2 separate regions of the Homo sapiens genome follow, and region 2 is linked to region 1. The links are contacts of gene promoters, found by promoter capture Hi-C in human tissues and cell types (Jung and others, 2019). All regions are on one chromosome and are shown on one strand. The core of a region is centred on a gene start or on the middle of the fragment in contact, and the rest is flanking DNA. Distances in the headings are between cores, read along the strand shown.

What was found. Contacts are between HindIII fragments. The study calls those that stand out against the background at their distance.
Region 2: a contact is called between a fragment that was not itself captured here and the fragment with the promoter of UTF1 in region 1, in 2 of the 25 tissues and cell types used here (dorsolateral prefrontal cortex and spleen).

The regions. Positions count from the first base shown.
Region 1 is chr10:133,228,934-133,231,524 of GRCh38, forward strand. UTF1 (undifferentiated embryonic cell transcription factor 1) reads left to right here and starts at 1,284. Exons shown (of 2, transcript NM_003577.3): 1 at 1,284-1,905; 2 at 2,034-2,591. The coding sequence starts at 1,356. The coding sequence ends at 2,509. RefSeq lists an enhancer at 1,266-2,065. The HindIII fragment of the contact is 26,740 bases long and covers 1-2,591 here.
Region 2 is chr10:132,832,324-132,834,914 of GRCh38, forward strand. CFAP46 (cilia and flagella associated protein 46) reads right to left here. Exons shown (of 58, transcript NM_001200049.3): 48 at 2,331-2,452; 49 at 1,718-1,800; 50 at 1,035-1,202. Among named protein-coding and RNA genes, the nearest start is that of NKX6-2, 47 kb to the left of the region's middle. The HindIII fragment of the contact is 6,011 bases long and covers 1-2,591 here.

The DNA of each region.
Region 1 (2,591 bases), core at 34-2,533:
GCACACATGTAGTCCCAGCTACCAAGGAAGCTGAGGCTGGAGGATCACTTGGGCCCAAGAGTTCAAGGCTACAGTGAGCTGTGATCAGGCCACTGCACTCCAGCCTGAGTGACAGAAAGAGACCCCATTTGTAAAAAATAATAAAAACAAACAGAACTTTTAAAACAAATAAATAATAACAGCATCGGGTTATGACCTAAAGGATAAAATAAATATACACGAGCCCACACTGTAGAAATAAATGACTGAGTAAATAAATCAACAGGCAGAGAGACAAACCTTACAGAAGAATCCCAGAAAATACAGACACCCCTCCAGGAGGTGGGGCCTAATTACTCTCCCCATGAGTTGGGGATGGGCTGAGGGGCCGGATTCCAGTGACCAGAGCAGGGATGGAAAGGCGATACCTGAAGACTGCAAGAGTGGCAGACAGTCCGCACCCCAGCACGGAGCAGACCTCACCGGTGCTGAGCCACAAGACAGGAGGGGCGAGACTCCACCCCTGCGCCTTCCTTCCTAAAACCCACCACCCTAGTCGGATCACAGGAAGACACCAGGCAAACCCAAGTCGAGGAACATTCAACAAAACACCTGGCCCGTCCTCAACCGTGTCGAGGACGCGAGAAGCTGCCACGGCCCAGAGGAGACCCAGGAGACAGAAGGACTCGGCGCCGTGCGGCAAGGAGGAAGAGCATTTAATAGGAAGAGAATTTCCTCCTCCCAGGGATGCTGGCTGCAGACGCGCTGCAGATGGAAGAAGTTCAGATTTTAAAAGCTACTTCTGCGAGCGCGTGAATTCCGACACCCATTCCCGCGGCTGGCGTGGCTTCTCCTCGGACCCATCCCCTGGCCTGGCGACTCCCCCTGGGACCCGGGTCGGTCCTCCGGACCCCTCGCGTGCAGGTGCTGAGCCCGGGCGGGGGCGGCGGGGGCGGGGGCAGCACTGGGGGCCGGACAAGGGGGCGCCAGCGCCTTCCGGAGCGGGAGGGGCTCCGCACACACCTCGACGGGGGCGGGGGTAGGCTCGGCACAGGCTAAAAACGAGCGGAGCCGCCGGGGCTTAGGCATCGCGGCACCTCCGTTGAACGGGTCTAAGAACAGAACTCCTGAGGACCCTCCGTTTCCAACCGAAGCCAGTCTTTGCTCTGCGTCTTCCCGGCCGCAGCGCCAGGACCGACCCCTTAGGACCCGGCGGGCGGGGCGGGGCGCGCGGGGCGGGGCGGGGATGGTGGGAGGGTCGCGTAGACCCGGCTGGGACGGAGGGACGGCGGCGCGGGATGCTCAGAACGCGTGTGGGCGGCCCGGGCGGCGTCTGGCCCTCTCCCCATCCTCGCGCGCCGCGCCCCAGCCCCGGGATGCTGCTCCGGCCCCGCAGGCCGCCCCCGCTCGCGCCCCCCGCGCCGCCCTCGCCCGCCAGCCCCGACCCCGAGCCGCGGACACCCGGAGACGCCCCGGGGACCCCGCCCCGGAGGCCCGCCTCGCCCAGCGCGCTGGGGGAACTCGGGTTGCCGGTGTCCCCGGGCTCGGCGCAGCGCACGCCCTGGAGCGCCCGGGAGACGGAGCTGCTGCTGGGGACGCTGCTGCAACCGGCCGTGTGGCGCGCGCTGCTCCTGGACCGCCGCCAGGCCCTGCCCACCTACCGCCGCGTGTCGGCCGCGCTGGCCCAGCAGCAGGTGCGCCGCACCCCCGCGCAGTGCCGCCGCCGCTACAAGTTCCTTAAAGACAAGTTTCGCGAGGCGCACGGCCAGCCGCCCGGGCCCTTCGACGAGCAGATCCGGAAGCTCATGGGGCTGCTGGGCGACAACGGGCGCAAACGGCCTCGCCGCCGCTCCCCGGGGTCCGGGCGCCCCCAGCGCGCCCGCCGCCCGGTCCCCAACGCGCACGCGCCGGCTCCCAGCGAACCAGGTAGGCGGGGGACTGGGGGGCCAGGTGGGGCCGAGGACTGCGGAGGAACCGGGGGCTGCCGAGGGCTGCGGGGGAGGGGCGGGCGCGCCCCGCGAAAATCCGCCCGACCGCCTGCTCCGCGTTCCCAGACGCCACCCCGCTGCCCACCGCCCGCGACCGCGACGCGGACCCCACCTGGACGCTCCGCTTCAGCCCGTCCCCACCGAAGTCTGCGGACGCCTCCCCCGCCCCCGGCTCCCCGCCAGCTCCCGCCCCGACCGCCCTCGCCACCTGCATCCCCGAGGACCGCGCGCCCGTCCGCGGCCCCGGGTCCCCGCCGCCACCCCCGGCCCGCGAAGACCCCGACTCGCCGCCCGGCCGCCCCGAGGACTGCGCGCCCCCTCCGGCCGCGCCCCCGTCGCTGAACACCGCCCTGCTGCAGACCCTGGGGCACCTGGGCGACATCGCGAACATCCTGGGCCCGCTGCGCGACCAGCTGCTGACCTTGAACCAGCACGTGGAGCAGCTGCGCGGCGCCTTCGACCAGACAGTGTCCCTGGCCGTGGGCTTCATTCTGGGCAGCGCGGCCGCCGAGCGAGGGGTCCTCAGGGACCCGTGCCAGTGAGTCCCGGCTGCGGCCAGTCTCCCCTCTCCAGGCCGAGGCCCCTCCGCCCTGACCCCTCCTGCTGCCTTCCCACCCCCGTTCT
Region 2 (2,591 bases), core at 26-2,525, 400 kb before region 1:
GTTGTCAGTTTCCCAGACTCCAAACTGTCTGTCCTCAACTTGCGGAGACCCCTGGGCTCTTCCTGCCCCCCCCCCCCAATGCTGTGGCCTGGAAATTCCCCAGAGAGTAAGACCTGGGTGGGCCATGGCGCTCGCCAGCCAAACCCCCTTCGAGGCCCCCCGTCCTGCGCGGACTGCTCGTCAATGTTTGAAAACCCTCATTTCATGTGCTTTTCTCTGGTTTTTATTTGTCTCAGCTGGAAGAACGAATCTGGTCCCTGTTACTTCATCTGAGATGGAAGCAAAAGTCCAATCGATTTATTTTTAATTTTATTTGATACCGAAGTGCAGAAAACTGCACGTACCGCAAGGGTAGCGCTCGGGGAAGCTTCACAACCGGGGCACGTCTGCACAGCCAGCACTCAGTCACAGAATGTCATCACCCCCGAATCCCAGCCGAGGTCAGGGCCTTCCGCGCGCTCCCTCGTGCTTTTCACTGTCTGAGTGATTAACGGAGAGGCTGGCTGTTTACTACACATCTGGTCCCCTCCTTTGAAACAGGTATTTGTGGGGGCAAGAACAGCGTTAAGTTTGTCTTCCCTGTGTGTTTAGCACCAGGATACTGGCACATAGCAGGTATTTTATAAATAGTTTTGAGTGTTTATATATATACATATATATTTTATTTTTGACAGGGTCTCACTCTGTTGCCCAGGCTGGAGTGCAGTGGCGCCATCTCAGCTCCCCAAAGCCTCAGTCTCCCAGGCTCAAACCATCCTCCCACCTCCCAGCCTCCTGAGTAGCCAGGACCACAGGTGCACACCACCATGCCCAGCTAATTTTAAACTTTCTTGTAGAGATGCACTCTCACCATGTTGCCCAGGCTGGTGAGTATTTATATCCTACAAATATCTTTGAATGAATAAATGCCTAGAAAAATGTTGCAACATTTGATGATTATTTCTTGATAGGAGCTAACATTGTTTCATCTGAAAAATAATTTAAATATTTCCATTTTAAAATTACACATTAAGGTGGCTGAGGGCAGTTCCTACCTGTCTCTTCTTTATGGAGGCGATTCCACAGCATTTGAAGAGAAAATTCTCGTGACACAGAGGAAATTGTCCCTTCATCGAACACAGAGAGACCTTCCAGTGGCAGCTCCAGGAGATGTCTGTCTGCGACCAGGACTATCTTATCGGCAACCTCAGGCTGGACTGTGCCTGGGAAACAGCAGTGCAGGGAGATCAGCTCCTGAAGACGGGACCCCTCCCACGGGGTCGCAGGGCTCCGTCTTCTGACTTGGCTGCTGGGCGCTGGGAAAGGCTGGCAGCCCGCCTTGACTCCATGCCACCTCCTCCTCCAGATGCCCCAGAACGGGGCGAGGAACAGCCTCCCATCACGCCTGTCCCTCCACACGATTCTTTTTGTTAGCAAGCACGTGTGGTGTGGCGGGGCTGACAATCCACCCACGCGAAGGTGGCTGTGCTGGGTTCCGTGGTGCTCTCAGGAGGCTTGGCACAGAGCCTCCTACCCAGAGGGCTGGTCCAGGGCTGTGCAGAGAACCTTCCGGGGACCTCAGGCGCAGGGAGGCCTCAGGGGAAGGAGCAGCAGGGCTTGTGGGACTCCTGGGTTCCTGACCCCCCCTGGCGTTCCCGGATGGGTGGGTGGATCCCAACCCCACCTCTTCTGGCGGGATGAGCTCCCCAGGCTGAGTGGCCACGCCCGCCCCACTCACTGTGTTGTCCTGTGGACGTTTTCCTCTCCTTGTCTTTGCCCTTCGACTTCCCTGAATCGGCAACAACCGCAGGTGTCTGCACTCTGAAAGTCAGGTTATATATTCGGGTTTAAGAAACAGAGATAACAAACGCTTGGAATATAGGCGACACCTGCTCAGCCTGTTTCACTCTAAGGCAGCAGCACCACGAATCCCCACGCTCACTTCTGGGGATGGTCCCACTGAGGTGGGGCCGGGATGAGCCACAGGATTTTGGGATCATCTCTGATCCACCAGCCAAGCTAAACGGTGCCAGGTGTCCGTCCCCTCTGCCTTCCTTCCCACCCCAAATCAAAGCAGCCCGGGCGGTCCCTTGGAGGTGCTTGCCCTCCCACCCCACACTTGGGCCAGGGGCTGGAGGGACCGTGGGCAGTGGGCAGTGGGCAGTACTCCTCCAGGCAGGAATGGAGGCAGAACCAGAAGAATTGCTTCCTGGGAGCAGGCAGGCGGCGCCGAGTCCTGAACAAAGGCGGCCGAGAAGGCACAGCAAGCACACGTGGTTGGCCACAGCACTGGACACACGTGTCCATGCGTGAGCGTGGTGGGGTGCCAGCCTCAACGTCATCCCCAGTACCTGGCCTTGGAGAGGCTGAGCAGGGGGAATAGCGGCTGCAGAAGCTCCTCCAGGGGCCCCAGGACGCTACTGAGCCTCTGCACAGGGCGCTCCTTCTCTTCCACCTGCAGGCCTTCTGGTTCCTACCGCAATCCAAAAAAGAGGCCCCCGTAGCAAACAGGGCGCATGGCCCAGACCCCGCGAGGGCCAGGCCCCTGCAGAAAGGCCGAGCTCCTGCCCCTTCTGCAAACAGCATGGTGGACAAGGGCACCTGGCTCGGCA